Linked DNA regions of Homo sapiens: region 2 is linked to region 1. Evidence: promoter capture Hi-C in 16 types of primary human blood cells and fetal thymus (Javierre and others, 2016). All regions are on one chromosome and are shown on one strand. Each heading gives the region's core, a stretch centred on a gene start or on the middle of the fragment in contact. The rest is flanking DNA. Distances are from core to core; before and after follow the strand shown. Region 1 holds the start of OR5T2 (olfactory receptor family 5 subfamily T member 2). Region 2 holds the start of OR5T1 (olfactory receptor family 5 subfamily T member 1).

Region 1 (4,846 bases), core at 1,885-4,384:
GTGTGTGATGCAGTATTAACTATAGGCACAATGTTGTACAATAGATCTCTAGAATTCTTATGTCATACATGATGGCAATTTAGTATCCATTGAATATAAACTCCCATTACCCCTCTCCTCAGCCCCTGGCAGCCCACCATTCTACTCTCTAATCATTGAGAGTATTATAGATATCGCACGTAAGTGGAATCACACAGTGTTTGTCAGTAAAGTCCTCCTGGTTCTACCATGATAACACATATGACAGGGTCTACTCTTTTTAAAGCTGTGTATATACCTCTTATTCGTTTGCCATTAATCTATTAATGCACATTTAGGTTGCTTCCACATTTTGGCCATTGTGAATAATACTGCATTAAACATGGACTACATATATCTTCAAAATCCTGATTTCAAGTATTTTGGATAAATACCCAGATATCGAATTGTAACTGCCAAATGGATTTTTTGCTGACTGCTCCACAGACAAAATCAATTTACTGAGACCACGGCATTGCAGTAAAGAAAAGAATGGAAAAATAAATATCATGTCATCTCATTCATAAGCTGGAGCTAAGCTATGAGGATGAAAATGCATGAGAATAAGCAAAAGAGATGAGGCTTGCCACACCATATGGGAGAGGGAGTTATTACTCAATTCAATCTCCTTGAAGGCTTGAAAGTTAGGTGCTTTTCAAAGATAGTTTGATGGGCAGAGGGCTAGGGTATGGGTGTTGCTGATCAGTTTAGGATGAATCATAGGGATGTGGAAAATGATCCTCATGTGTTGAGTGTGTTTCTGGGTGGGGGCCACATGACTGTTTGAGTCAGAGGTCCAGGTGGGGCCATCCAGCTATCAGATATACAAATATTTGAAAAGAATCTCAAAATGCCAATCTTAGGTTCTACAATAGCTATGTTATCTGCAGGAATAATTGGGGAAGCTGCAAATCTTGTGACTTCCAGGAAAAAATGGCTGGTAATCATTTTACTAGGCCTATATCTTAGCAGAACACAGACTCCTCTCATCCTCTTAACTTGGTGCCTTTGATTAGTTTTACAAAGGTGGTTTAGTTTTTGCAAAGGACTATTATCATTTAAACTATAAACTAAATTTCTCCCGAAGTTATTTGGTCCATGCCCAGAGATGAGCAAAGACAGACAGCCTGTGATGATAGAAGCAAGAAGAAGTCAGTCATGGCAGATTTCTCTTACTGTCATAATTTTGCGAAGGTGGTTTCAGAATTTCAGGATTGTATAGTAATCCTGTTTTTAATGTTTCAAGGAACTTCCATACTATTTTCAATCATGGCTGCACTGTTTTATATTCTTGTCAACAGTACACCAGGGTTCCAATTTCTCCACATTCTTATCAATACTTTTTTTTTTTAAATAATGGCCATAACAGGTGTGTGATGATATCTCATTGTGGTTTTGATCTGCAATAATTAAAATCTCCATATTACCCAAAGGGGTCTTCAGATTTAATGCATTTCCTGCAAAATCCTAGTGCTGGGTTTTACAGAAATAGAAAAAACATCGTAAAAATTATGTGCAATTACAAAAGACTTCAAATAGCCAAAGGAATCTTGAGAAAGAAAAACAAAGCTAGAGGTATTATACTTTTTTATTTCAATGATATTACAAAACTACAGTAATTAAATAGCATGGGACTGGAATAAGGACAGATATATAGACCAACGGAACAGAATAGGGAGCCTGGAAACAATCCCACATGTATATAGTCAAATGATCTTTCACAAGTGTGCCAAGAATACACAATGGGAAATTAAATTGGACCCTTGTCTTATACCATATAAAATAACCAACCCAAAATGGATTAAAAATTTAAACATAAAACCTGAAACTACAATTTCTAGAAGAAAACATAAGGAAAAACTTTAGGACCTTCAGCTTGGCAGTAACTTGTTGGATGTAACATAAAAATACAAGCAATGACATAAAAAGCCAAGTAACAAAACCAAAATTAGACAAGTAGGGCTACGTCAAAGTCAAAATCTTCTGCACAATGAAGAAAACCATCAGCCAAACAAAAAATATTTGTAAATGATATATCTAATAGGGGATTAATATCAAAATATATAAATTCAATAGCCACAATAACAATAATCTTATTTTAAAACTGGCAAAGGACTTGAATACATTTTTTTTCCAAAGAAGACATACAAATGGCCTTCAGATGTATGAAAAGATGTTCAACATCAGTAGTCATCAGGGAAATTCAAATCTGACACATTTTAAACAGAAGCCAAAGAACTCTATTGATTCAATAAGTAGGAGCATGCAGTGCCTTATTCCGGAATCATTTACTTTTTATTATTAAGTAAATCATCATGGTGCTATTTTGAAACAGAAGATAATTGGGGCATATTCCCCTTGGGACATCTCCTTGGATTTCATCAACAGTCAATTACAAAGATATAAACAATCTAAGTTAGCCATATTCATAGAATACCTAAATCTGCATTTGCTGTTCCACAGGTAAGAGAAAATTTCAGATAATTTGAAGAATATTTCGGCAGCTAGAACCTACAATATCAAGAATAACTATGTTTTTTTTTACTAAACTTTTTAGCTGCTAAACACCAAGAACTAAACACTTCAGTTCTGGACTATTACATATGTGAATCAAGTGTATTCATCAAAATATGATTTATTTAGAGTTATGCCTAAGAATTAAAATCCAACACTTACTAGAAAACAATAAAAAATAGAAAATATTGTATTTGTACTTATAGAGATAAATAAGAGTGCTCCTAATAGAGTATATGCTTGTATTTTTCTTATAGATAAAGATAGTTCAAAGGTCATGAATTTACCAATAAATATCAACAAAGGGCAAAAAAACATTTGACTTATTCATTTATCTGGGGTCTTGTATTTTGAAGTAATAAGGAAAACAATCAATACTTATTTTAAATTTATTTTCTGGCTTTATAATCTAGAAGTCACTTCAGATTGCTACTTATTTTATGTTTCTCTAGATTTAATGGCTTAAAAAATACAAATACATCGAGAATCATGTTTTGCTTTACCTTTATTTCCCTGAGGTCAGCAGAGGGGTAAGAGGAAGAGTGTTCCAGTTGCAGAATGAAGCCATTTATGAGGCCATGAAAAAATGCAAAAATTTCATGTACAATGAGAGAAACCTGGGATTGAATCTTGGCTCTGGAAATTGTTAGCTATGAAAGTTGCTATAAAGGTGAAATAAGGTAATGTACAAGAAATGTCTGTTCTTGCAGCAAGTGCTAAATAAATGCCTGTTATTTAGCAAACTTAGTGTTTCGTTATTACATTCACGATATTTAAAGTTTTCTCCCTTCCATTAAAATTTGTTTCATAAAAATAGATTTGCATTAATTTAAAAAGTTGATTCTATATTATTAAATCTTCAAGAATCATAGTGATTTTCTCTTTATAACTCTGAATCTTTGACTATGTGCTAATATTAACTTAATTTTTACCCAATATAACTTATTTTGGCATCTAGTAGAAATGCCTGTCTCACAAGAAATTTGGTTGAAGTATCTTATTTGCACAAAGCAAAATTAAGACAATTGTAATGTAGAAAATGGAATCATGGTAATTTGCATGTTTATTTTTGGCATAAAATGATCAAGTAATTCACAAAACTTCTTCATTCTCCAAAGAATAATTCAGAGACATTTGAATGAGCAGATGAAAAAAATCATAACTGTTCATTGGATTTAATCTTGATAGAATGTAGAACCAACTTAATTCAGCATATTCTATAATCAAAATTATTTTACATATTATATTTTATTAATGCAATTTTCCTTCAATATTTACTCCAATCTTGTGAACAAACTATTAATGTTCTCATTCTATAGACAAGTAGATATAGCAAATCATTTTGCACAATTGCTACAAGTTCTAAAATTCTGGTATTGTATTCCAATGCTCTGTCCCCTGATACAGTCTCTTGTGTATTTGGATGCCCAAAGATTGTTTAAGCCACTCATTTTTGTGTGTTTTAATATTATTTAATATATAAACAGCTTAATACAATTCAGTGGTAAATTAACCAGTAGACCTGATGATTTTAGAAACAGAATAAGTCCAGCCAACTAATGAACGTCCATTTCTTCCATTTGATTCTGCAGTGAGTGGCATGAACACATGGCTGACCAGTTTGTCACTGTCTTCTGATTCACTACTAGAGAATTATGCACTGCTGAATATATGTCGTACAGTATATACAAGAGCACAGTTAACATCCCCTTGAGTCATGGTGTTGTTCATTCTTTTTGTCATAATATGAACTGTAACTTTATGCATATCTTCAAGTTTGTTCTAGATTTCAACATGAAGAATGTCACTGAAGTTACCTTATTTGTACTGAAGGGCTTCACAGACAATCTTGAACTGCAGACTATCTTCTTCTTCCTGTTTCTAGCAATCTACCTCTTCACTCTCATGGGAAATTTAGGACTGATTTTAGTGGTCATTAGGGATTCCCAGCTCCACAAACCCATGTACTATTTTCTGAGTATGTTGTCTTCTGTGGATGCCTGCTATTCCTCAGTTATTACCCCAAATATGTTAGTAGATTTTACGACAAAGAATAAAGTCATTTCATTCCTTGGATGTGTAGCACAGGTGTTTCTTGCTTGTAGTTTTGGAACCACAGAATGCTTTCTCTTGGCTGCAATGGCTTATGATCGCTATGTAGCCATCTACAACCCTCTCCTGTATTCAGTGAGCATGTCACCCAGAGTCTACATGCCACTCATCAATGCTTCCTATGTTGCTGGCATTTTACATGCTACTATACATACAGTGGCTACATTTAGCCTATCCTTCTGTGGAGCCAATGAAATTAGGC
Region 2 (4,641 bases), core at 1,001-3,500, 40 kb before region 1:
AGCTCCACATGTAGAGAAGACTTTTCTCCTCCCTTCAGCAGACTGCATCTTCAGAATGGCCAACAGAATAAAACCATAGGAGATCAGGACAATCAGGATAGTGACTATCTCAATAGAGCCCACAAAGTAGAAGAATAGAAGCTGGATTACGTGAGTGTCAGAACAAGAAATAGCAAGCAGAGGAGGCATATTACAAAAGACATGCCTAATTTCATTGGATCCACAGAAGGACAGGCTAAATGTAGCCACTGTATGTATAGTAGCATGTAAAATGCTAGCAACATAGGAAGCAGTGATGAGTGGCACATAGACTCTGGGTGACATGCTCACTGAATACAGGAGAGGGTTGTAGATGGCTACATAGCGATCATAAGCCATTGCAGCCAAGAGAAAGCATTCTGTGGTTCCAAAAGTACAAGCAAGAAACATCTGTGTTGCACATCCAAGAAATGAAATAGATTTATTTTTTGCCAGGAAATTGACCAACATTTTTGGAGTGACAACTGTAGAATAGCAGACATCCAAGAATGATAAAACACCAAGAAAATAGTACATTGGGCTGTGAAGCCAGAAATCCCCAATGATCGGTACAACCAGCCCTAAATTGCCTATTAGAGTGAATAGATAGATTGCTAAAAATAATAAAAATAGGAAGACTTGCACATCAAATTCTTCTGTGAAGCTTATTAATATAAACATGGTGACTTCAGTAAAATTGTTTAATTGAAGCTTGTATAGATCCATATCTGAAGGCAACCCTGACATTTTAGCTATTGTTTATATGTACTAAATGCAACAGCCTGTGAAAATTAAGTTTATCCAATTATATCCTCATGTTCGTTTCTTGGAAAAGCAAGATGAAATCCTTGTCAGCAAATGCACAGGTGGTGATAAAATTGGGTCCAAGTGGATACATTACTGTAATTAAATAAATTAAATAAATTATTTTATTCAATCATGCACTAAATTTATCTTTTTAACATGGATGAAGCTGGAAGCCATCATTCTCAGCAAACTATCTCAAGAACCGAAAACCAAACACCGCATGTTCTCACACGTAAGTGGGAGTTGAACAATGAGAACACATGGACATAGGAAGGGGAACATCACACGCCAGGGCCGGTCGGAGGGTGGGAGGCTAGGGGAGGGATAACGTTACGAGAAATACCTAAGGTAGGTGTCGGGTTGATGCGTGCAGCAAACCACCGTGGCACGTGTATACCTATGTAACAAAACTGCACATTCTGCACATGTACCCCAGAACTTAAAGTGTAAAAAAAGTCTATTTAATCAGTTTAATTTCCTGTTCATTTTCCATCAAATGTACTACCATCTATTCTTAATATTAAATTGTTTCAAAACTCATAAAGACTGAGTGCTATTCCTAGGTTTTCTAAAAAGTCCATTGAATTACTTTATTTTTCTCATTTTAAATATGGAAACAATCATATCTACATTATAAGAGTGGGTTGTATTTAAATGGGAAAAACAGTATGTAAGTTATTTAATATTTAAATATGCCCAGATAACTAGAAAATGCAATGTCAGGCTTATATTAAAATTTATCATTTGAGACAGTCTTTCTGACCAAACCATTTCAAATCCTTTTTTTTTTTTTGGCAATTATCCTGCTGTTGCATTAGTACTTACAGAATGGTGGTGGATACAAGAGATTTGATTCTGGAGATAGATGCACCTTGTTTGCAAACCAAAAGAATTTGGTGTTCATTTTTCATTTATTTTTCCTTTTGTGTTTCACTTTTCTTTCCTGAAAAAAATATCACCAATTTGTTCATTTTGGCCTGTGCAGTTTTTTTAAGCATTATTATTTTTCAGATTTTAACTTAAAACCAATATCAGACGTGTCAATTTATATGATCATTTGGTCATTATGCCTGTGAAGTCCTTGGGTGTATTTTTGTGACATATTTATATCAAAAATGAATTATGGCTATCCTTTTACTATGATTCTTACGTAACTTCTGAAATTTCTATAAAATAAATACCATCCAATAACAAGTAATACAATTATTTTTATAAACTGTTGCTAAAACAACACACGTATTCTCTCCTATGATCCTTGGAAAGTATGTGATTCAATTTGTAATACAGCTTCACATTAAACAGAACCCTCTTTCTTATATTTAAATAGTAAGAAATATGTTTTAGTCTTAAATTCAAGGTGAGAGCTTCTTAATATTTTACAAGTGATCAGATTCCTTTTCTCTTACCTTTGGAAATGAACTGCTCACTCAATTCAGGTATGCTATGAATATTGTGCATTTGAATTCTTATACCAGGCCCTTGAGCTCTAGAATTCCACAGGGATGCCCAAAGAAGAAAACACACTAATTCTCTTCTGGGATAAAACAAATTATGATTTTTTTTTTTTTCTGTAGTGAACAAGTAACTGATCTGGAACATGCATTACATGATTCCAATGATCACATAAGTGTACTTTCTACCTAGGTCCAAAATAATCCCCCAGTGGAAAAAAATATGCATATTACTGAAAAAGAAAGCTAATAATACAGGCCATAGTGCTAGCTCTGATTCTAATTATCTACATGCTATCAAATTAATAACTTAAATTCTCTAAAATTCAGTTTCTTCTTGAAATTATAACCTATGAATTATCTGGAAGTCCTATTGTCACATACATAATGAAATAATATGAAAACATAACCTATGACAAGACATATAATCATTTAATAAAGGTTACTATATTTATTTAAATTTGACAGTCCTCTAATTCTAAATGGTATGAGAGAGATTTAACTTCATTGAAAATTTAATAGGCCAGGTGCGGTGGCTCATGCCTGTAATCCCAGCACTTTGGGAGGCCGAGACAGGCAGATCACCTGAGGTCAGGAGTTCGAGAACAGCCTGGCCAACATGGAAAAACCCCATCTCTACTAAAAATACAAAAAATTAGCCGGGCTTGGTGGTGGACGCCTGTAATCCCAGCTACTGGGGAGGCTGAGGCATGAGAATTGCTTGAACCCAGGTGGTAGAGGTTGGCAGTGAGCCGAGACCATGCCACTGCACACTCTAGCCTGGGTGAAAGAGTGAGATTCCATCTCAAAAAAAAAAATTAATAGAGGAGATATTAATGCACATAATTATAAGGTAAATCTATGAATAGAGAATATTAACAGAAGAGTTAGGGCAATATGCAGATGTTCTATGTAATAATTTTCTGTGAACTAGAACATTAGACTCAGATATATGGCAGAGTTAAAGGTCAATTTTTTAAGTTCTGCGAGATCTTTTCTATCTTCAAGAATTGATATACTAATCTATATACTTGTTCTTTGATATGCACATAAGAAATTATCCAAAATGTGATGAAAAATACATGGATGATCAAAAGAATGAAATGACAACAGACTAGGAGAAAATACTTGCAAGGACACATCTGATAAAAGACTGTTATCTAAAATTTACAAAGAACTGTTTAAAACTCAATAGGAACACAAACAACCTGATTTAAAAATGAGTCAAAGACCTTAAAAACCACCTAAAATGGTCAAAAAGGCCGGGTGCAGTGGCTCGCCTGTAGTTCCAGCTTCCAGCCTGAAAGGCAGAGGTTGTAGTGAGCTGAGATTGTGCCTCCGCACGCCAGCGTGGGCGACAGAGCAAGATTCCGTCTCAAAAAAAAAAAAAAATGATTTTAAAAATGAGTCAAAGATACCCCATAAAAGATATACATATGGCATGTAACCATATGAAATTGATGCTCCACATCATAGGTCATCAAGGAAATGCAAAAAAAACAATGATATATCTCTTCATAACTAGAGTGACCAAAATCCCAGAACACAGAAAACAGCAAAAGCTGGCGGTGATGTGCAGCAACAGGAAAACAGGAATTCTCATTCATTACTGGTGGGAATGCAAAATGGTCCAACTACTTTGCAAGACAGTTTGGAAGCTTCTTACAAAGCTAAATTTACTTATAATCCAGTAATCATGCTCCTTGGTGCTTACCCAAAGGAAACAATATCCACACAAAGTTTTGCACATGGATGTTTACAGAAGCTTTATTTATAATTGCCAAAACTTACAAGCAACTAAAATGCTCTTCAGTAAATAAATGTATTAATAAACTGTGGTTTATCCAGATAATGAAATATTATTCAGCTCTAAAAAGAAATGAACTATCAAGTCATAAAAAGACATGGATGAAATTCAAAGGCACATTACTCAGAAAAATAAACACATTTCCAACACCTAGTGAATGAATAAAACAATTGTAGTACATCCATAATATGGAATACTACTCAGTGATAAGTAGGTATAAAATATAATTATCTAGTACAGGAATGAATCTCAAATACTTCTTGCTAAGTTGAAAAAGCCAAACTCAAAAAGTTACATACATTGTGATTCCATTGATATAATATCCTGGACCAGGCAAAATCACAACAGAAAGCACATCTGTGGTTGCCAGAACTTGGGAGTAAAGGAAAGTAATTGGCTACAAAGTGATGAGAGGACTTTATAGGGTAATGAAAATATACTATAACTTGATTTGCTTACCTACTTGTGTTTATCAAAATTCATATAACTGACACTTATAAATGGTAAATTTTTCTGTTTATATTAAAACTTTAGAAAACTAGCTATTACATAAATTTA

The links. Contacts are between HindIII fragments. The CHiCAGO score rates a contact against its expected background, and 5 or more counts as called.
Region 2: the fragment with the promoter of OR5T1 here is called in contact with the fragment with the promoter of OR5T2 in region 1 in 13 of 17 cell types (neutrophils, monocytes, naive CD8 T cells and 10 more); the score reaches 13.7 in neutrophils.

The regions. Positions count from the first base shown.
Region 1 is chr11:56,232,543-56,237,388 of GRCh38, reverse strand. OR5T2 (olfactory receptor family 5 subfamily T member 2) reads left to right here and starts at 3,134. Exons shown (of 2, transcript NM_001004746.4): 1 at 3,134-3,212; 2 at 4,125-4,846. The coding sequence starts at 4,327. The HindIII fragment of the contact is 5,726 bases long and covers 1-4,846 here.
Region 2 is chr11:56,271,763-56,276,403 of GRCh38, reverse strand. It overlaps OR5T1 (olfactory receptor family 5 subfamily T member 1), which reads right to left and starts at 2,250. Exons shown (of 3, transcript NM_001004745.2): 1 at 2,232-2,250; 2 at 1,651-1,768; 3 at 1-918. The coding sequence starts at 765. The HindIII fragment of the contact is 3,205 bases long and covers 732-3,936 here.